2 separate regions of the Homo sapiens genome follow, and region 1 is linked to region 2. The links are contacts of gene promoters, found by promoter capture Hi-C in human tissues and cell types (Jung and others, 2019). All regions are on one chromosome and are shown on one strand. The core of a region is centred on a gene start or on the middle of the fragment in contact, and the rest is flanking DNA. Distances in the headings are between cores, read along the strand shown.

Region 1 (3,610 bases), core at 46-2,545, 200 kb before region 2:
CCATTTGCAGGATTGTACAGAAGCAGCATCAGGGAGGAATCCAGACCACCCCACATTTTCTTCCCCATCATCCTTTCTGTAGGGTTTGCTGTTCTCCTTCAGATATTCCTCCCTCTGCCCTTGCCCTCATTCAGCCCCTAGGGGCTGGGACAGGTGGGCTGCCCAGCTCTGCCCTCTTGCTTGCCCCTCTGAGGCTGGATGGCGAAGGGAAAGGAGAGGCCTGGGTCCTCATCTGTCCCTCGTGCATCTTGGCTGGACACTACCCCAGCAAGCTCAGCCATGTCGGGCAGTAGTGCCAGCTACTTCTTTCCTCTGAGTTGTGACGCTGACCTGTCCAGGAGCCATCTGCAGTCCCTGCTTCCCATGGGGCTGGGGTCTAACTCTTGGCCAAGGGAATTGAAGCTGCCTAGCGGCATCTGTTGGTGGCTTGGAAAGGATTTTTCCCAGCTTTGGGGTTTCTTTCCCTTGCAGGGAAATGTGATAATCAACCCAGGATAGATGAAGTTATTGGGTTACCTTTCCAGATGCTGGCGGTCCAAGTTTCCCTTGCAGCTACCTCTGTGGGAGCTGACAAGAGTGTTGGAGGAGCTGGACGTGTCCACCAACGCAGGAGGCTGGCAGCTTGAGAGCCACTGCTGAGCCCTGGCCAGGAGGGGCGTCCTGAGTGGGCCTGTGGAATGGGCCCCGCGTCCTGCCTGGCTTTCCAGCTCCCCCCAGCAGGGGGAGATGCTGTCTTCTCTGTGTTGGGGAAAGAAGGAAAAAAGGAGGGGGCCAGGGATTGGGAACCTCATTTTAGGATTGTTGAGAGGCTTTGGAACTGGGGCCACTGCTTGGGGATGTTTGCTTGAGGCCCTTCCTGCAGAGTGTTCCTGGGGTTCTGGACTGGCTTTCCCAGTTGTGGGGTTCCAGCTGCCCTGGGCCAGGGAGATAGTCAGCCTCCCCCCAGCTCTTCCTTTCTGAGGGGCCTAGCGTCTGCTATTCCCAGAGCTTGGGCTGGCATCTGGGCTAGGGCTGGGGTGCCCAGCGCCTGGCAGAAGCCTGGAAACCACATGCCTTGGAACTCGGCGGAAGTAAAGTGAGACCACCGATTGAAGCCAGAGCACGCGGGTGTCCACTTCCCTGTAGAGAGCCCCAAGAAGGAAAGGTATGGGCCATGGGGCAGGAGATAAGAGGTGGGAAGGAAGGAAATGGTTAGTCCCCAGGGTCTGCTGCAGCCCCTGAGCGCCTCCCACCTTTTCCTCACTTCCCTGAACACTTGCTCCTCTTTCCCCAGAGTAAAGGACAGTAGGCTTTGTAAGGGGCAGAGCTTCTGGTTCCCCTCAAGTCCTCTCAGCGTAGGAGCTTTTCAGTTTGGCAAGTCCTCACTGAGTATCACCAACAGGCTCAGCCTGTGGAAGACAGAAGAAAATATGAGATGGGCCATCCCTGGTCCTCACAGTGAACATGTTAGCAAGAGAGACTGTTTTGGTGAGGGGCAGCAGGTGGAGACTGTGAGTGATTTCCTTCTGGGGCCCACTGCCCAGGAAGGTGGGAGCTGATGACTTCCCTCTGGCTCGGGCTGCCTACCAGCCTTTGACTTTATTTACCTCTTTTGCAGTCTTGGAATCACAGGCGGAGGCTATTGATGGGGTTGCCTGCTTCCCTGAGACCATTCCCTGATCTCTGCCTTTTCTTCCGGCAAAAGGGGGTTTGAGGATTAAGGCTGTCTTTATTTTTCTGGAACTGTTTGCTTCTGCATGTTCTCCTCAGTGGGGCTGAAAGGCTGACAGAACTTTCCCTCAGCTCAGACTCGGCCCAACCAGGTTGGAGGAGCTGCCCAGGGGCCTGGGACCCAGGCCAGCTCTGGTTGTACCCTCTTTGTGCCATTGCCCAGAAGAGCAGGCAAGAGTGAGGCCCACTGTGCAAGCCAGTCTGGGTGGCAGCGGGGCCATGGAGGAGGCGGCCAGGATCCTTCTCCCCAGTGTGGGAGGGAGACAAGCTTCATGACAACACCTGCCTGCCCAGCGCCTCCCAGAACCTTCACACTTTCTCTCTTTCCCTTTTCCAGGATGGAGGGCAGCAGCCCCCCCCCCCCACGCCTGCTCTCTGGGTGACCAGAGAAACTGGGGCATGGGTGTGGGGTGGAGCCAGGAACCTCGGTGTCCTGCCTTCCAGCCTTGGGCTCTGCCTCCTTCAGAGCCCCCAGGGAAGGCAGGCAGTGAGAAAGTGGGTCAATCCTGGCATGGGGCTGGGGTCTGAGAAGTAGACTCCTGGCCTCCCTTCTCTACTGAGATGCCCCCTGGCACACCTCTGTGCTCACTGCAGAGCGGGACCTGCTTCTCCCCTCCTCTTCCCTGCTCTATCATTCCAAAGAGATTGAAGGCTTAGAATGGAATGGCCAGAGAAGGCAGGGTCAACCCTGAGGGGAAGTAGAAGATGCCAAAGTAGGTGTTCACATTTTTCCTGGACTTGGCTTCAAATGAGAGGGTTCAGCCAACACCTAGCATGGGGCCTGGCTGGCACATGGCAGCTCCCAGGCCATGCTGATGGGCTCCAGCATGACTGGGCTCGAAGGGCAGGAAAGAACAGGAGGGTGGGCAGGTCTGATATCTGGGTCTCAGGGAAGCTGGCATCTCACACTTCATCCAGGGTGCTCCTGGGCCAGCCATTGGCTTTTTCACTGCACACTAAGCAGACCTTGCTTTCTTCCCTTTGGTCAAGGTCCCCCCATCCCCACAGCCTTTGGGCTCAGGAAATGGAACCTGGAGCCAGGGTTAGGCTCTTTTCCTCCTTCAGATTCAGAGGGCTAGGAGGTCAGAGTGCAGCCTTTGAGGGAGGGGCAGAGTGAGTCTGGGGAAGACAGTCCTGGCTCTGGGTGAAGCTCATGTACCCCATGCTTGGTGGGTGCTCCATAAGGTTTGTGGGATGATACATGGGTGTGCTGGTTGGGAGAGAACGGAAAAGAGAAGTGAATTGCAAGGAGGGGGGCTAAAGCATGAAGGATTGAAGTTAGACATTAGGAGGACCTTGTATCACCTGAATCTCAGAAGAAAAAAAGACATTTGTCCCCATCCCAGATCTCCTCTCTTATTGCCTTGGAGGGTTCTGGGAATTGCACTGAGGATTTTCTGACTGTGTCTGATACTTTGCTTCCTACTTGTTGGAGGCTGTAATGGTGCTGGGAGCTGGCTCCCCAGCTCCCGGCTCCAGCCACCTCTGGGTGTCCCTGTCCTGGGTGCTACTATCTTCCCTAAGCAGGAAGTCCTGTTTCCTTCAATGTCTGGGTGCTCCAGGTTCTGGGGGCCCTGCTTTTGAGTCCTGGTAACTGACGCCTTCCTCTTCTTTAGAATAAGGCTCTCCTGCCACACTCTCCTATGCCTGGGGCAGGCAGAGAGAGCTGGGACAGGGCTAGCCAGCCCTTCTGGTTACTCCTAGCGTGGGTGGGAGGAGTCCTGGGCTGGGAGGGGTTGCTGCTCTTGGCTTTCTGGGCTCCCTTGAATCTGCTGCCCATCACCCCACTGATGGAGACCTTCCCTTCCCTTCCTCTTGAGAGGGCCTGGTTGGCCAGGATGAGGTTGGGGCAAGGGGTGGTGAACAAGATCCCCAGCCATACCCTGAATGTCCACCAGCA
Region 2 (3,566 bases), core at 205-2,704:
TCCTGCCTTGGCCTCCCAAAGTGCTGGGATTACAGGTGTGAGCCACCACGCCCAGCCAGGAAATTCAGTTTCTGAAAATACACCTGTGGATCTCTAGCCTTGAACATCCTTGTGTGCTGCTTTAAATGGCTGATCCTCAATGCCTCCCTTCCAACTCACACACGCTCGCTCCCCTACATCAATCTCCCAGAAAAAGGAACCTATTTTATTCTTTTCTTTTCTTTTTTTTTTTTTTTTTTTTTTTTAGAGACAGGCCTCACCTTGTTGCCCAGGCTGGTTTTGAACTCCTGGCCTCAAGTGATCCTCCGGCCTTGGCCTCCCAAGTTACTGAGTTCACAGGCGCGAGCCACCACGACCAGTGAAGCCTATATTAAGCCCTTTTATGCTCACTCTGCGATACTGCAGAGAGGGCAGGGAGGAAGCAGAGGTGCCCTGGCATCTTCAGCTGGCGGTGAGCAGGGCGCTGAGGGTGGGAGAGGCCGGGCGCCTGGGGATGGGAGGCAGGACCGCACCTTCACAGGGATGCTGCCACCCTACCCCGGAGGTCAGGGCCTCTCGCCCAGCTCTGGCTCTGAGGTCCTGGAGGGAGGGAGATGCTGTTGCGACTCAGAAGATCAGGGGAGGGCCACCCCCATTCGAGAAAAGTGAAAATCCTGAGCCTGAAGCAGAAGTGGAGACGGTTGGAGCGGAGGCTTCAGAGGGTGGCGTTGGGAAGAGGGTCTGGCGCCGCCGTGTGGACTGTTCGGGCTCACGGGGCTGAAGGCTCCGAAGACCGAGACCTGTGAACCGTGGGGAGGCTCCATGCGGATGGGGGCCACAGCCCCCGCCGGAGCCCCCACACTAGCCCTGGACTTCTCCACCGGCTTACGACATGATAGCTCAATAAGCTCCTTATTTAACGCACTGTTGTATCAGGTCCCTGTCGCAGCCACTGGCCCTATAGCCTAATAAAGGAGCGGGTGCACGCATTGGATTGGTGAGCTACCGCCACAGCAACAAGTCCTAATCAACCATCCCAAACGGTGGCTGGAACAAGGTTCTCGCAGGCCTGTGCTTGGGCTTGAACGCTGGGCCGGCCGCTGCGCTCTGTGGCTCCCTGCAGACCTGCGGATCGGCCAGGGGGCTCCGATCCTTTTGGGCCGTGGCTGAAGAAGCAGCGGCTGCACCAGAGAAGTCCTTCTGGGTGAAGGTGGAAGCGCACAGGGACCGCGGAACCGCCCAAGGCGTCTTCCGGCGTAGGCTCAGAACTGGCAGGCTTTCGTTTCTGCTTCATTCCATGGCCAGAGCAAGCCACGTGGGCAAGCCCGAAACCAGGGGGCGGGAAAGTACCCTCCACCCACAAGGAAACCATGGCAAGCGGTGGTTGCAGGTAGGGCTGAGGAATTGGGGCCGATAGTTCTATCTATCCCGGTGAGTGAGGAGACCTGCTTTGGGGGTTGCACAGTCTGGGTCTGCCCTTGCAGTGGTATCTGTCTCTGTGAAGACTCCACCACGGGTCGCCATCAGGTCAGAGACCCTGACAAGGTAAGAATTTGCATTTTCCTCTGCACACAACCCTGTTCCCTTCCCCTCCGCATGCCTAACACAACACTCCCTTCCCCCCCATGCCTAACAGAGAGAAAGGAGAGAGACAGTTCTTGAGCCCGGTTCTTCCTGCTTGAGCTTGGTGTGTCAACCAAAAGAGTCAAACTCTGTAAAATATTTGAAGGGATTTATTTTGAGCCTACTATGCATGACCAATGGCCCATGACAGCCTTCAGCAGATCCTGAGAACATGTGCCCAAGGTGATCAGGCCACAACTTGGTTTTATGTGTTTCAGGGAGACATCGGACATCAATAATATATGCGACATGTACAGTGGTTTGATCTGGAAAGGCTGGACAACTGGAATGGGGTTGGGGAAGTGGACGACTTCCAGGTTATAAGTAGATCGAAAGATTTTCTGATTGGCAATTGGTGGAAAGAGTTAAATTACTGTCTAAAGACTTAAAATCAACAGAAAGGAATGTTTGGGTTAAGATAAGAGATTGTGGAGACCAAGGTTTTATCACGCAGGTGAAGCCTCCAGGTGGCAGGCTTCAGAGAGAATAGACTGTAAATGTTTCCTTTCAGACTTAAAGAGTCTGTTCTATCAGTAAGTCCAAAAGGAGGGATCGTATAATTAGGCATGACTGGGCTCCCCTTCCCATCATGGCCTGAACTAGTTTTCAGGTTAACTTTGGAATGCCCTTTGCTGAGTGGAGAGGAGGAGTCCATTCAGATGGTTGGGTGAGCTTAGAATTTTATGTTTGGGTTTCAGTTGGCATCCAGTATCCCTTCCCCCAAGTTTGGGGCCCCTCCCAAAGGAGATAGGCCTGGGTCTCTCCTCACATCCTTGGGGGTCTCAGAACTGCAGACTCAAACCTTTTGCCTCAAGGAATCCCTTTGATGATTTGCATAAACCCTTGGGAGGCTGCAGGGGGGCTGCTCTGGAGCTGAGACACAGCGAGTCAATCTCCCTCCATCCCCCTTTTGTCTTGTTCTCACCCTGAGGCTGCAGGCCTCAAGTTTTTTGGCTGGATTCTTCCCAAAGCAGGTTGGGGGTGCAGGTACTGTAATCACCTGATGGGTTCTTCCTGCCTACTGCACAGACAAAACCAATCCACTGAGACCATGGCATTGCAGTAAAGAAAGAGTAATTGACACAAGGCCGGGCACACAGGAAATAGTTATTACTCAAATCGGTCTCCCCCAAAACTTGAAGATTAGTTTTTCAAAGATAGTTTGGTGGGCAGGGTCTAGGGTAGGGTAGAGGTGCTGCTGATTGGTTGGGCATGCAGATATAGGGGTATGGAAAATGGTCCTTGAATGCTGAGTCTGCTTCTGGTTGGCAGCCACAGGACTGGTTGAGTCACGAGTCTCGATGGAGCCAGAAATGCATAAAGAAACATCTTTCCTTATGCAGATGTTGATCAGCTGTGCTTACACATTCCTTTGTAAGGACAGGACAGTCTCCCCTAAGTTAGGGGACAAAAGTGACTCCTACTGATGGCATTAGCTCTGCCCCTACTCTCAGATGCAATGCCAGGGACTGTGAGGACTAGAGACCCTGGAGCTGCTGGCTGGGTGTGGTCGGGGGCCAGTTATCAGCCTCTCTGAACTCCATGTCCTTAGTACTAAACAGAAGCCCCTTTTGCAGGGTGGGCACTGGGAAGCACTGTTGGGGCCATCCTTTGTTGGTGGCCTCTTCTCTTCCATCTCCTCTGGGTTTTCACGGCTTTTTCAGGAGCAGGCCTTGCCACCCTGAGTGCCCTCCATGACCACAGCTACCTTCTGAGGAAAGAGGCCTCGGGGGTCCTCTCTGCATGTAGTTGCCGGGCAGGCCTCGCCTGGCTGTATATGGGAATCACCTGGGGAACGTTACAAACCACTATTGTGTTGCCCTGCCTCCCAGAGATTCTGCACCTTGTATTAACTGAGCACCTAGAGCCAGGTGTGGTGATGCACACCTGTAGTCCCAGCTACTCAGGAAGCTGAGGTGGGAGGATTCCCTGAGACCAGGAGTTCAAGATTAAGCCTGGGGAAA

What was found. Contacts are between HindIII fragments. The study calls those that stand out against the background at their distance.
Region 1: a fragment that was not itself captured here is called in contact with the fragment with the promoter of FAM215A in region 2 in 1 of the 25 tissues and cell types used here (IMR-90 fibroblasts).

The regions. Positions count from the first base shown.
Region 1 is chr17:44,112,902-44,116,511 of GRCh38, reverse strand. The region is part of intron 2 of HDAC5 (histone deacetylase 5); the gene reads left to right. It overlaps LOC105371789 (a long non-coding RNA gene), which reads right to left and starts at 600. Exons shown (of 3, transcript NR_136415.1): 1 at 517-600. The HindIII fragment of the contact is 6,162 bases long and covers 1-3,610 here.
Region 2 is chr17:43,915,096-43,918,661 of GRCh38, reverse strand. It overlaps FAM215A (family with sequence similarity 215 member A), which reads right to left and starts at 1,454. Exons shown (of 1, transcript NR_026770.1): 1 at 675-1,454. LOC105371787 (a long non-coding RNA gene) reads left to right here and starts at 1,438. Exons shown (of 2, transcript XR_001752898.2): 1 at 1,438-1,524. RefSeq lists enhancers at 1-810, 811-1,632. The HindIII fragment of the contact is 7,093 bases long and covers 1-3,566 here.